Regions from separate parts of the Homo sapiens genome. Here regions 1, 3, 4 and 5 are each linked to region 2. Evidence: promoter capture Hi-C in 16 types of primary human blood cells and fetal thymus (Javierre and others, 2016). All regions are on one chromosome and are shown on one strand. Each heading gives the region's core, a stretch centred on a gene start or on the middle of the fragment in contact. The rest is flanking DNA. Distances are from core to core; before and after follow the strand shown.

Evidence for each region. Contacts are between HindIII fragments. The CHiCAGO score rates a contact against its expected background, and 5 or more counts as called.
Region 1: a fragment that was not itself captured here is called in contact with the fragment with the promoter of ITLN1 in region 2 in 1 of 17 cell types (activated CD4 T cells); the score reaches 5.0 in activated CD4 T cells.
Region 3: a contact is called between a fragment that was not itself captured here and the fragment with the promoter of ITLN1 in region 2, in 7 of 17 cell types (fetal thymus, naive CD4 T cells, activated CD4 T cells and 4 more). The highest score is 6.8, in fetal thymus.
Region 4: a contact is called between a fragment that was not itself captured here and the fragment with the promoter of ITLN1 in region 2, in 1 of 17 cell types (megakaryocytes). The highest score is 5.6, in megakaryocytes.
Region 5: a contact is called between a fragment that was not itself captured here and the fragment with the promoter of ITLN1 in region 2, in 11 of 17 cell types (fetal thymus, megakaryocytes, total CD8 T cells and 8 more). The highest score is 9.2, in fetal thymus.

Annotation. Positions count from the first base shown.
Region 1 is chr1:161,094,814-161,097,513 of GRCh38, forward strand. No RefSeq gene overlaps it. Among named protein-coding and RNA genes, the nearest start is that of KLHDC9, 2.2 kb to the right of the region's middle. The HindIII fragment of the contact is 2,624 bases long and covers 79-2,700 here.
Region 2 is chr1:160,883,807-160,886,506 of GRCh38, forward strand. ITLN1 (intelectin 1) reads right to left here and starts at 1,374. Exons shown (of 8, transcript NM_017625.3): 1 at 1,255-1,374; 2 at 1,014-1,077. The coding sequence starts at 1,071. The HindIII fragment of the contact is 4,692 bases long and covers 1-1,385 here.
Region 3 is chr1:160,747,205-160,749,904 of GRCh38, forward strand. SLAMF7 (SLAM family member 7) reads left to right here. Exons shown (of 7, transcript NM_021181.5): 2 at 990-1,310; 3 at 2,617-2,700. Among named protein-coding and RNA genes, the nearest start is that of SLAMF7, 9.3 kb to the left of the region's middle. The HindIII fragment of the contact is 7,230 bases long and covers 1-2,700 here.
Region 4 is chr1:160,645,137-160,647,836 of GRCh38, forward strand. SLAMF1 (signaling lymphocytic activation molecule family member 1) reads right to left here and starts at 1,908. Exons shown (of 7, transcript NM_003037.5): 1 at 1,734-1,908. The coding sequence starts at 1,809. It overlaps LOC107985220 (a long non-coding RNA gene), which reads left to right and starts at 1,873. Exons shown (of 2, transcript XR_001738266.2): 1 at 1,873-2,199; 2 at 2,337-2,700. RefSeq lists enhancers at 1,740-1,949, 1,990-2,039. The HindIII fragment of the contact is 1,112 bases long and covers 768-1,879 here.
Region 5 is chr1:160,683,758-160,686,468 of GRCh38, forward strand. CD48 (CD48 molecule) reads right to left here. Exons shown (of 4, transcript NM_001778.4): 2 at 1,130-1,432. It overlaps LOC124904439 (endogenous retrovirus group K member 18 Env polyprotein), which reads left to right. Exons shown (of 1, transcript XM_047438433.1): 1 at 1-2,711. Among named protein-coding and RNA genes, the nearest start is that of CD48, 27 kb to the right of the region's middle. The HindIII fragment of the contact is 715 bases long and covers 894-1,608 here.

The DNA of each region.
Region 1 (2,700 bases), core at 141-2,640, 210 kb after region 2:
CTGCCCTCAATTCCCACCGCTCAGCAATGACCCAATGATACTTTCCTACTCAACATTGCCTACTCCCTCAACAACATAAGCTTCTCCCCATCCTTATTCCACCTCTCCATCATTCTCTACCTTGGCTGATTACCACTCCCCTCCACCCTAAAGCCTGCTTACAATTTCACCTTTCTCTCAATCTCCTTCTAGCTCACATTCAGTCAAAGGAGCTCTCAAGATCTGACCTCATGCAGTCTCTTTGCCTGGTCATTTCTCTGTCCTTTTGTCCCTGTCTTTATTCTGGCTGAGCTGAGAGCAAAGAGTCAGAAATGGGGCCAGGATGGCATAGGGCCAGGAAGTCAAGCAGCTAGAATGAGCTGTGTGAGAAATAGAGAAGGGTCAGGGTACAGCAGAAGAAGAGTCAAAGAAAGGGCCTGAAGGATGGGGACAGCCTGGGAGACATGGGCAGAGGGAACTGTGGGAGTCTTGAGTGCGATTAAGACCGTTTGGTGCAATTGTTGGTCTTTCTTTCTTTCTTTCCTTCTTTCTTTCCTTCCTTCCTTCCTTCTTTCTTTCTTTCTTCTTTCTTTCTTTCCTTCCTTCCTTCTGTCTTTCTGTCTTTCTCTCTCTTTTCTTTCTCTCTCTCTCTTTTCTTTCTTGCTCTCTTTTCTTTCTCTCTCTCTTTTCTTTCTCGCTCTCTCTTTTCTTTCTCTCTCTCTTTCTTTTCTTTCTCTCTCTCTTTCTCTTTCTCTCTCAGTCACCCAGGCTGGAGTGCAATGGCACAATCGCGGCTCACTGCAACCTCAGCCTCCCAGGTTCAAGCGATTCTCTTGCCTCAGCCTCCAGAGTAGCTGGGACTACAGGCATGCACCACCACGGCTGGTGAATTTTTTATTTTTTATTTTTAGTAGAGATGGGGTTTCACCATGTTGGCCAGGCTGGTCTTGAACTCCTGGCCTCAAGTGATCCACCCACCTTGGCTTCCCAAAGTGTTGGGATTATAGGCGTGAGCCACCACACCCAGCCCAATTGTTGGTTTTCTGTATGTACCGAATAATGCTAAGAACCAGAGATGGTTCCAGGGTCAGAAAATGGGGTTAAGGAAGGGAGAAGATAGAGTAAGAGCTTTGTGAAAGTTTGAGGCAAGGGGGCGTAGATTTGGGGCTAGGATAGACATCTAAGGCTAGGTAGGAAGCTGGGTGCTTGCTTGCTAGAGATCATATAGACTCTTGGCCAACTGAGACAAAGCCAACATCAGGGGATCACATCAGGATTACGAGACTTTCAGGATATCCAGTCCCTGCTCTCATTTCTGGACAGAGGTTGTCCCTGGATATTATTAGCAGGTGAAAGCAGGTTCACAGCCCTGGCTGCCCTTTTCCCTGTCTCTCACAATTTTCTCTCAGTTCCCCCTTTCACTTATCTTAATGCCCTTTCAGTTTGTGTATCATTGACAAGGTCATTATAGACCACTGCAGATGCTGTCCTGCGGTGTGAAGCATGTGTCATACAAGTCCAGGTTGGCTGGTTTGCTTTCTTCCTCTCTCTGTTTCTCTCTTTCTGGCTTCTTTTCTCCCTCCTCCAAAATATGGATTTGGTTCAAACTAACCTAAGAAGGTAGGAGTCCTAGGCAGTTCCTCTCCCAGGGTCTTGGGATGGCAAAGCAATGGACAGATGCTTCCAGCTATTAGGAGGAACTGGAAGCATCTAGGTACAGAACTGGAGAGGGTACAGCCAAGGAGTATGTGAGGTTCAAGCTCTATGTCTAACTAAGATGCCTACTGCTAAGGACTCAGAGTCAGAGAGGAAGCTGGGAGAGAGGAGCTGGAAAGGCCCGTGGGGTGGGGAGTTCCCATTTCTATCCAGGAAAGGCAGAAAGTAAGTCTAACAGAACAGCCAAGACTTAGGCAAAAGCAAGAGCCTAAAATGGACATATAGGCCAATAAGGTTTAAGCAAAATTGCCCCACCCCTGAGGCAAGCCCTTGCCTAATCCTAGGAGTATGACAGATCTGAATCCAGCTGTTGGGAGGTTAGCCAGTGAGAAAGAAGCCTGAGGGAAAAGACTGACTTTTAAATTTCAGCCAAGGACAGTAAAAGTTAGTGATTTTTTAGAGATTCTTACCATGATTTTGGAAAACTGAGAATACTGCCTGTCATACTCAGGGAAAGCTATAGTTGGGAGGGCAGAGACTTTCAAAGCTATTGTTGAATCTTGGCTTTAAGGTACAGGTGGGGAACAGGTCCTGGTAATCTTCCAATCTCTGTAACTGTGCCTTTCCTGCCCATGCCATCCCCATGCTGTGTTCTCTGAGGACCAAGAGTTGGGAAGAGGAGGGGAAAGCCCTGCTGTGCTATCAGACCCTGCATTACATGCCCATCCTCACTGCAGCCCTGGCCACTGTCTCCTTTCTTCCTTTCTTTATTTCTTTTCTTTTTTTCTTTCTTTCTTTCGCCAGGGTCTCACTATGTTACCCAGGCTGGTCTTGAACTCCTGAACTCCTGGCCTCAAGTGATTCTCCTGCCTGGCCACTTTCTATGGTCTCAGTATCTCAGGTATGATGGGGAGCAAGGTGATGTGTAGAAACCAAAGGCCACAAGTAGCAGTCATCATTCCCACTTACAGCCCAGTCCCAGAGGACACAGATCCTGTTTTTGCCCCACACCAGCTGTGTTGGGAGGAAAATTCTGTCTGTATTTCCTCCTTCAGCTGAAAGCAG
Region 2 (2,700 bases), core at 124-2,623:
ACTGAGTAATCAAAGACATTAAAGTTCCCCAGCAAGAGCTTGCCTCTAGAGGGAATTGCTAACAAGTCAACAGAAAATTGTATTGACAAGAATAAATGGTAGAAGAAAGGCAAACTCAAGAGAACAAAAGAAAGACTCTGAGGTAACAGTGGAGAATGGAAACGCCAGACAGTAAGCGGGGCAGTTGCCTGGGAGAAGAAGGCAAGACGGGTTGTCTCATGTCTTAGTCACAGAAGACCTTCCAGTCCAGGTGACATCTTAGCTTATTCTGAGAGAATAAACATGATTTATCAGTAGGAAGCCAATCCAAGGCAGGGAAAACAGCATATCCAAAGGCCTAGAGAAAAAAAAAAAAATACAGCGTAGTCCAGCTGTAGAACTACAAGCTGCTTAATATGGCTGAAACATGGGGTGTGAAGTAGGGAGTGGTGAGACTAATCTCTACTCCAAAAAGTCTGCAAACTATTCGAACAGTCTAGGGGAAAGCTGTGAGGTCAGAGGTGACTGACCTCAGTTTCCTCATACCTAAAACACAGTTAATAAACAGTGCTTTTGCAAAGATGAAGTAAGAAGATATTTCGAAACAGCCTTTTCTTTAAAAAAAAAATTTTTAGACGTGAAGAAAAATATAAATTTTAAAATGTCATTGTTATTCTTGTTGTAGAGAGGAAAACTGTGGAGAGAACATTCTCCAGGCACAAAGCAGACCATGTAGTTCCCATGGAAATCCCACAGCCAAGGCCACAGGAGTGGGCAGTGGCTGGAAGGTGACACAGTTCTTGCCACAGCCCCCTCAGGGCCACACAAAAGCACAGAGCCTGGACCCAGGACATGCCTCAAGCAATACCTTCACTGCCACAGGCCAGATTCCGCCAGAGACCAGAAATCGGCACTCAGTCTACATGCAAGCCAGCCGCTGTGCATCTCAAGGACATGCTCTGTGTCCTGGGAGAGACCAGGATCCCGGAAGTCATCCAGCTGAAGGAACTGCTGTCCCTAGCAGCGTGACTCACCTGTACTCCATCCTCTGGTGGTCGCTATGAGAAACAGCAGGAAGCTGAGTTGGTTCATTGTAATCTAAAGAAAGCAAGATGAAGGTCACCATCTTGGCCATCATTTTTCTCTACATCCCTGCCCCACCCCTGTCCAGTCTTACAAAGACTCCAAAACCCCTTGCCTTTTGTTTAAACTTCACACATCTCTGAGACCAAAAGCAGACCTAAGCTGAAAACAGGATTCCCCCAACTCACAGACCTTGTCTGAGTCTCAGCTGCACTTTCCTTGGGTACAGAGAGCTCCTTCACTCCCTCCCTCCACTGCGCCCTGGAGCTCAACAGAGTGCAGCTTTCTCCAAAAACGCTCCTGATGTGGAATGAGGTGCAGAAAGCTTTATGGAGGAAGCCCAGTGGGGCCAACCAAGGTTTCCAGCCTCACCCTCCCCTGGCACAATGCCCAGTGCAGGGGAGGCTTCTGGTTATCTCGGGGAGGTTATTTATACAGTGGAATTAACAGGTTCTAAAGAAAAAACCAATCCTAAGAATCACCTGCTAGCGTTGTTCCTGGATCTGGGGGTTTCATGGACCTGTGTCAAGTAGGAAGTAGACGAAGAGATTAACAAGAGTTGGTGTTGGTTTTGGGTTTTTGTGCCTTTCTTTCTTGCAAAATAAAAACTTTCTCTAAATTAAGCATCTGTTGGCTTGGCACATTGGCTCAAATCCCAATACTTTGGGAGGCCAAGGCAGAAGGATCACTTGAACTCAGGAGTTTGAGACCAGCCTGGGCAACATAGGGCAACCTCTTCTCTACTAAAAATAAAAGTAAAAAAATTAGCATGGCATGGTGGTACTTGCCTATAGTTTCAGGTGGGGCTGAGGCAAGGCAAAAGGGTAACTTAAGTCCCAGAGATAGAGGATTCAGTGAAATATGACCGTGCCACTGTACTTCAGCTTAGGTATCTCAAAATAAATAAATAAATGAAATTAATCATTGGCCATAATTATCAATTCATAGAAATAGAAAAAGGAAATTTTAACAAAATGGGAAAGTGATCATTTCTGAATAAATTGGTAAAAAGGAATGGAGGGGAAAGAGATACAAAACACACAAAAAAATACGAATAGAAAAGTTTTAAAAAATATATAAATCTTTAGTTTGAATAATTTAGTTTCACACAAAGACTCACTACTTTGTCTTTAATTTTGTCATTTTGCCACAAACGAGGGAAAATTTACTACAGGATTCATTTGAAACTGAATCAATACGAAACCTCTCTGCTGCTTCGAACCTCCTGTCTTATTCCTGCTCCTATGTCATGAAGTTCTCAAATGCTACCCTGCAGCTGTAATAGAATTACTCAGTTCTTCCCCAGTGATATCATACATTTAATACATAATGTCATTATAGCATTAATAATACTGCAACCTTTTCTTACAAAGATTGTGAATATCTTTTTTGTTAAGCTAATATTTCCTATTTGTTGGTTCAAAGTACTGATTTGCAAAAAATACTCACATATTGATAGAAGAAAATAAAATAGCACCCAAGAAGAAAAACTGCAAAAAAAAGTTATACTTTTGTAAATTTAAAATCTATTAGAAGCTATTTGCTCTGTGTATCTGGAAAATAATTAATTAAATAAAATTAAATGTATTAGAAACTAAATTAACTCATCAGTATAGGTAACAAAATGAACATACCCAG
Region 3 (2,700 bases), core at 186-2,685, 140 kb before region 2:
TTTCTACTATTTAGTTTTCTCATCTATAAAATATGCCCTTCAAGGTCTCGACCCTGTGGGTTTTGGTGTGTACTCTGCCTCTTACTAGGTGGCTTGAGTAAGTCATTTACCCCCACTGTGCCTCACATTCCTGATCCGTAAGATAGGGATATAAAGAATGTTTCTTCAAAAAGTTGTTTTAAGAGTTAAACAAGGCTGGGTGTGGTGGCTCATGCCTGCAATCCAGCACTTTGGGAGGCAGAGGCGGGCAGATCACTTGAGGTCAGGAGTTCAAGATCAGCCTGGCCAACATGGTGAAAACCCCACCTCTACTAAAAACACAAAAATTAGCTAGGTAAGATGGCACACACCTGGACTCCCAGCTACTCAGGAGGCTGAAGAAAGACAATCACTCTGAGGCAAGACAATCACTTGAACCCAGGACGTGGAGGTTGTAGTGAGCTGAGATCGTGCCACTGCAATCCCGCCTGGGCAACAGAGTGAGACTCTGTCTCAAAAACAAAAGTGTTAATCAAGATTATAATTTATGCTTTTAAACTGCTAGTCCCAAACTAAATTCTCTCACTGCTCTGTGTTATTCCCAGAGTCTGTCTCTCAAGTTTAATAGGTAAGAATAAGATGACTTACTCCCCACATCTGTTTACTGGTAATGCTCAGCTGGCCACTTCTGGAAGTTTCTTCAGCAGACATTCTTAACTGTTTTTCACCTACAACCACATAATCAGTGATGATTTTTTATAAGTCATACTCTCTGGGAGTGAACTAAGATTGTTGTGATACATAAATTTCTAATATAATGCTTCCATGTGAGCACTTACATAATAGGGTAACATGTGAGGGACCTCTATATGAGGTTCCAAAGGCTTTTCCAGGAGGTTGTTGTGTTGGACTGAGTGGGTTTCTCAGATCTCTCCAGGACCCAAAGGGGGTGAGTAATTGGTGACAAGGACAGGGAATCAGGCTTATTTTATGGTTCTCTGTGTTTATAGGGTCAGCAGCCTCTGGACCCGTGAAAGAGCTGGTCGGTTCCGTTGGTGGGGCCGTGACTTTCCCCCTGAAGTCCAAAGTAAAGCAAGTTGACTCTATTGTCTGGACCTTCAACACAACCCCTCTTGTCACCATACAGCCAGAAGGGGGCACTATCATAGTGACCCAAAATCGTAATAGGGAGAGAGTAGACTTCCCAGATGGAGGCTACTCCCTGAAGCTCAGCAAACTGAAGAAGAATGACTCAGGGATCTACTATGTGGGGATATACAGCTCATCACTCCAGCAGCCCTCCACCCAGGAGTACGTGCTGCATGTCTACGGTGAGCAAAATCAGTTCCAATGGTGGATGGCTGCCTTGGTGAGGTGGTGAGCTCCTTGACATGAGAGATGTTTAAGCAGAGGCTGAATAAACACTTGGCAAGAATGTGGGAGAGGGGACTTCTGCATGAATGAAATAGATGTAGCTGACCCCTGAGGTCCCTGCCTACTCAGAGATGTTGTAAGAAGCAGCGTGGTGCAGTGGATGGCTGATATGTGCAGTGGCCATCGCATAGATCAAGGTCAAATGCTGGCTTCTTTATTTAGTCACATGACCTTAGCCGAGTTATTTAATTTCTTCAAGTCTTAGTTTCCATATCTGTAGTGGGGAGGAAAGAAATGCCTACCTTAGGAAGATTTTTGGGCAAAATATCGATCACATCTCTTTCTCTACAGATTACAACCAATTGATAAATAGATGCAAGAAGGAGGGGATTAAAATATCAGCATATTTCTGGTAAATCTAGACAGGAGAAATGCTTCCTTTCAATTCTAGACCTTGGCACTCATCCAGGGAAGTTAAAATTATGAAACAATGACTCAAACTTCTTCAAGAAGAATAGCTGCTTCACTCACTGAGCCACAGTATCAGGAACCTTAGGGGATGGGCCTCCAGACTTGCTTGTAGGAGGTAGGCACTGCACCTGATCCAGGTGTGTCTTCCATATAGACATGGTTGAAGGGAACAGAAGATATGTATTCTGCAGGCTAACTAGTCAGGGGAGGAAGAAAAAGGGCAAAACACATTTTAACTGCAACCTTTAACGTCTCAAACCCATGAGTAGAGAAAGGTAAATGATGAATGTCAGACTCTTACCATCTCACCAATGAACCAACTACTCATTCTCTGAGGCAGGGGAGTGAGCACAGAGTAGAGAAGGGGGCCAGAAGGGCTACTCCAACACAATTTTCTCCTAGAGAGTAAAGTGAACTCTCATAGAGAGTAAAGGGAAGCCTGAGGACAGAGACTAGGGAACCTCTAGAACAGATAATATTAGCGGACATCTAACATGCGTTATCACAGTGCTTGCCATGTGGCTATGCTTAGTAAATGACAGTTATATTCTTATTGCATTATTATTTCTATTATTTCTATTGTTGTTATTGTTATTATTATTATATAGCTATGGTAAAGCAGACCTAGGTAGTTCTCTTTTCCAGATACGAATGAGGATTCTGCTCTGAATTACTGCTTTCTCTCCAGTCTGGAGCTCCCAGGGAGATTCAGGTCCAAGGTATCCAAGGATAATTCAGAGAATGGAGAGCTATAGGCAGAGTTTCCACCTCTGGTTTTCCTTCCTCTCACAGAGCACCTGTCAAAGCCTAAAGTCACCATGGGTCTGCAGAGCAATAAGAATGGCACCTGTGTGACCAATCTGACATGCTGCATGG
Region 4 (2,700 bases), core at 74-2,573, 240 kb before region 2:
ATGTGGACTTTTTGATTTTTACAATTCTGACTGGGAATTAGAAGTTGAGCTGAGTAGAAATGAGAATGGGAGTGGATGCCAGTTTTACAAGAATCAAGCTTCTTGCTTGGGCAAATCTGTCATGACTAACCTGCCCCATTTGCAAAGCATTTCTGTCTGGGTTTTATTGGGGCTTCACAAAAGGGTGTGTATTTAAAAATAAAAACACTGAAAAACTTTTGTGAAGATTCAAAGAAGAAAACATGCAATGAAGTGAGCAGCCTCCGATTGGATAGACTTGCCTTGTGGGGCTGGGTTGCTTCTCCCTGACCGGCGACTTCCAAAGCCTCAATAAGACGAGCTATTGGTCAGCAGTGCCTAAGATGCTATGGGCCAGGCTGGCCAAGAGGCTAGCAAGCACAGAGATGGAAAAGTCCAGTTCACAGTTCAGCACCATCACTCCATCACACCTTACAGTCACCAAGAGGTGCTCCAGAAATGGTGCAGTCACAAATTGGTTGCAACAACGGAGGCTTGGCTTTCCCTGTGACCACTTAAAGTGGCTCGATTTGGTTTTCTGAGCCCCGAGCTCAGTTCTTCCTCCCCTAGACCTTGGGAAGTACGAGCCATGGATCTGCAGATTCCAAAAGAAAGTGGGCTGAGCAAGCCCTGTTCGTCTGGCTGTCTGGTAAAAGACACATCCATTGTGCAGCACCCCCACATCCCTGGCATATCACGGTGCTTTTCCTGGAAAAGTCCATATTGGATTTGCGGTCTTGAAAACCCCAAGCTTAAAACACCCTGGGCCTCAGGATTTCCCCCCGTGTCCGTAATGCCACCTCTTCTACTCCAGGCTACCTCCCACAGTCTAAACAAATAAGCAGAAGGAGATTCTCACCCCACTCACACAGGCAGTCCAAAGTCCACTTCTTGCTTGGCTTTTTCTTTCTCAAATACCTTTTCTCATAGCCCTGATACTTCTAAACAGAAAGCAATAGCCTGCCTTGGGAAGAAGATAGACAGAAAGACAGGAACAGAGTCCAGATCCAAAGGTAGCTCTTGTCTGGCCTTCCTGCTGGAGCTACTCTCTGAGGGTTCCCAATTTGCATTTCCCACATACTGTAACCAGCCCTAGCCTTCAGAAATCCCAACTTCTTCCCTCTTGCTTTCTTGGACCTTCTCTTCCAAGAAAATACACACCAGTATGACCGCACTGTGGCCACTGCTGGTTCTCAGCCAAAAGCCTGGAGTTTTCACTTCTACTCTCTCTTCCCACTCTAGCCAATGCTTTCTGTTGACCCATGCTCCTGGTTTGTCAGCCTGCATGTGCACAGATTCCCTCCCAGGGCAGGGATGTAGGGCAAATCTTCTCCCAGAGCTCAGTCCATCCAGCTCAGTCTCTCTAGGCTGGGTCTTTGCCAGAAGATGCCCATGTAAAACCAACCACTCAAGCAAGACTTCTACCAGGGCCTGTCACCCTAAGACTGGTCAGAAAAGTGACTGGAGCCTTTGGCTTAGAGCCCCTCATTTCCTTGGAAACTGGGGTTGGTGGGGCTGAGTCTTGGAAACCCAAGGGCCCAGGAACTTATAATGTTCCTTCCTCTTTGAAAGAGGCAGTTGAAACTGACAGCCAGTCCCTAAGGAAGAGTGACCAAACACAATACCCAGCCCTGCACCTTCTCTCCATCCACGAAGATACGCTGATTCCTGGCAGCTAACATGGGACTCAAACCATCAGGCAGATGAACACTCACCTGTTCCGTAGCTTGCCCCAAAAGCCAGGGAGAGAAACAGCACGAAGGTCAAGGAGAGGAGCCCCTTGGGATCCATCAGCCAATGAGGAGAAGGAAGGGATCCTGGCCGGAGCCTGGCAGCTGCTCACAGATGCCAGGCAGAAGCAAGCTTCGTGTCATGCAGCAGAGGCTGTCTGATTTATGTATCAGGAACCAGCAGGTTCCTGAACCCGCTTCCTGTATCACTGGGACTTTTTCTGCTTGTGTCTTGAGGATTGCTCATCTCCCATGAGGCTTTAAATCACTTTTTTGTTCTCAAGAAGCAGGCTTCTCAAGAAGCCAGGCACTTAGCCTATGGGAGCCAGGAAAGGGGGTGTGTAGTCACCTCGGCCAAAACCCGGCTTTGGGCAGAAACATGCGCCCCAGCTTCTTTCCTTAGCTGTCTCCAGGAACCGGATGTTGCAGATTCTCTGAGCAGTTCTCTCCGGTAAGTCTTCTTGGATTGCAAAGAAAAGATGTTTCATTGGATCACTCCTCAAATTTGGCAGTTCACAGCTGAACTTAGATAACTGCATTTTGATGAGCTAATAGACCTCTTACTTCTGTTTTATTTCATAATTTCAGATGACACCTCAACATGCAGTCTGGTGCAGGTGCCACTGTCACACAGAGATGGGAAGGGCATGTGCGGGTCACTTGGAAGAAACCCTGTGACCCCGATGAGTGCAATGTGGTATAATTTAGTAGCCCATGCTCCTAGTTTGTCTTCTTGCATGTGTGTGGATTCCCTCCCAGGCAGGGATGTAGGACAAATCTATCCCAGAGCTCCATCCTTCCAGCTCAGTCTCCTTGTTGTGTGTGTGTTTTCTCCTCTAATTTTTAACGTCTGTGGGTACATAGTAGATATACATATATGTGTGTGTGTGTGTGTGTGTGTGTGTGTGTGTGTGTGTGTGTGTATGTATATATATATGTATGGGGTATGCAT
Region 5 (2,711 bases), core at 1-2,500, 200 kb before region 2:
TACTTTGACTCTAATAACATCCTGAAAGGTAAGTAGAATTATTCTCATAATATGATGAAGAACCCAAGGCTCTCAAGGGAACACCACTCTTGGATTATTTAGCCCCGCTCTTCTACAAGAATTGCATACCCCAACCCCTGGAGCCCCTCCCCATATCCATGTTTCTGCCCTATAATCTGATCCTTTCACCAAAAATGTTTAGATCAGGTACACACACCTGAACTAAATTGGGACTATCAGTTTCTCTCTCTTTAAATTGCCCTGAGAATTGAAACTCAGAGGAGCAAAAGTCTAAGTTTTGAGAGATAACATGTGTAAAATGGCAGGAATCCAAATCCATAGGCACAGTCCACAGATTCCTGAAGCTAGGGGTTCTGGCCCGAACCTGGTTTTCAATCTTCTCCCCTTAAGCCCTTCCTAGCTCTTTTAAACTCTTTGAATTGCTTTAAATAGCCCTAGTTTCTTAAACTAAATTCTCCTTTTTTGGTAAAGGTACATTGAATTAGTTTCTGTTATTTGCTATCAAAAGAATCTTACCTAATATGGGCACAGAGATGTGAAGATCTTTTTTCAAGGCTGCACAGCTAGTGAGCAACTGACCAGTTTTGAACCCAAGTCTGTCTGGCTCCAGGTATAATGCCTGAGTCCTTATTCCATATACACTGGTTAGACTGGAGCTATGAGTGGAAGTTTTTTTGTCCTGCCCATTATGAAAGTTGAAAAATTCTCCTGATAACTCCTGCCCCATTCTTTATATTAATACATTCTCTTTTTTCTTAAGTCCAATGAAGCCTAATTTCGGAGATATAATCAAGATGAGCTGAGCTGATTTAGGTTGATCACAGGACAAAATGAAGGAAATAGGAAAAATCTCTAGTTTTCCTTCTCTTCAAAGCTTAGACTCACTAACTTCAGAAGAGGTGTTAAATGTCCTAAGATTGTTAATTTGGATATCTGTTGACCTAGGCTCACTCCCAAATAGAATTGGATCAAGGAAAAATGAATCAAACCTGTCCTGAGGTTTTTCTCTCCTCCTCCCCGAGAGTGCCCCATGCCTCCCAGGAAGCCCTACAGTGGTCCATCTGGGGCCACTGGAGTGGGGATTTGCTCTTTGGCTCCCCTGACTCACCAAGCACTTGCAGCTTGATCTTCCATTCTTGCTCATTCCCAGTCTTTTTCAACACCCTCATGATGTAGGTGCTGTTGTCCTCTTTCTGGACCTTAGAGATGTACAGTGCGCCACTCTGAGGATCAAGTCTGACCCTGCCTTTAAATTTGGATTCAAAGTACTTAGATTTTCTGGAATCCCATTCTACAATCTTCTGGTCGAAAGTATAAAACCAGGTTAGTTGTTTGTAGTTCTCAGGCAGGCTCTCAGAGATGTTCAGAGTCACGTTGCTGCCGGAGACCACGGTCATATGTACCAAGTGACCTGCCAATGAGATTCAGAGTGAGACCTGCGCTAGAGGAGGCAGTGTTGCTGACAGGCCCAGGGTATAGCCTGGGCTGGTGGAACAGGTGAGAAGGAAGGGATTTCTGCTTAGGAGCAGTGAGTATGGTTTTCACTGGAGGTCCAGGTCTCCTGCTTAGGAACTCAAGAAAAGTTGAAGCTTGAAAAGTGGGCATGGGGGAAGGGGATGCTGCTTATAATTAATCTAGTACTGTCCCCAGAAAATGAAAGAATTGAGTAAGGCCAACTGAGGTTGGGCCTGGCTCTCTCCCTTACTCTCATACCAGTAGACTTTCAAATAAACTGATGACAAGTCATATCTCTGCTCTGGTCTTGTGTTTCCTGTCTATTCTCATTTCAGTAAGCATGTTGTTAGTCCCTAGAGGCATAGACATAAAAAGTACATGATTCTGTTTAAAAATATTTAATATACCAATGTGGGAGGACAAACACACAAACAAATAATCCTAATATATTATCTTGATGACTATAATAAAGGTAACGTGGGGACCAAGGGAAAGCTTCCCCTTCACCTTCTGAAGGTTTGCCAAAAATCACTGACAAGAGGCAGATTAAGGAGGAAAGGCATACAGATCAATTTAACGTGTAAGCAGAGCCTTCCTAATGAAGAGCCAAAGATACAGGGCAAATTGTCCATTTTTATGCTTAGGTTCAACAAAGTATGGACAGTCATGGAGAAATATGATTGGACAAAAAGGGTATGATTGAATGCCAATAGACTGACTGCGGGAAACCCAGCAAGGCCTATCTTTCTAGATTCTGCTTGGCCTTTCTGTGCCAGATTCTTTCCTTCCTCCCGTGTGTGGGTCAGGCCCTCTCTAGAATGGGGGTCTTATGATTCACAATCAAACAAGATAGGTCAGATAATTTCTTTATAGCTATTTTTTTTTTACAGAGAAAGGCTCAAGGAAAGTTAGGGTGGTATATTTAAATTTTATGGCTGGCTTTGGGGAAAAGGGGTTTTGGCTTCTATGGCCCACCTTGGGAAAGAGGGATTCCAGTGTCTATGGCTAGCCTAGGGGAGAATGGGACTGATAGACAGGAGGGCAGGAGAAGGTCAGAGAAAAACTTTCACTTCTGAGGCTGCTTCTGAGGCCATCATTTTAGGGCATCATTTCCTGACTCCTGACAATAAACACAGTGTGCTATGGGAATATATTCCTATCCGGAGGGTAGGGATAGAAAATGGAGAAAATACTAAGAAAAATCTCTTTGGAGGAGATGACCACTAGGGTAAGCC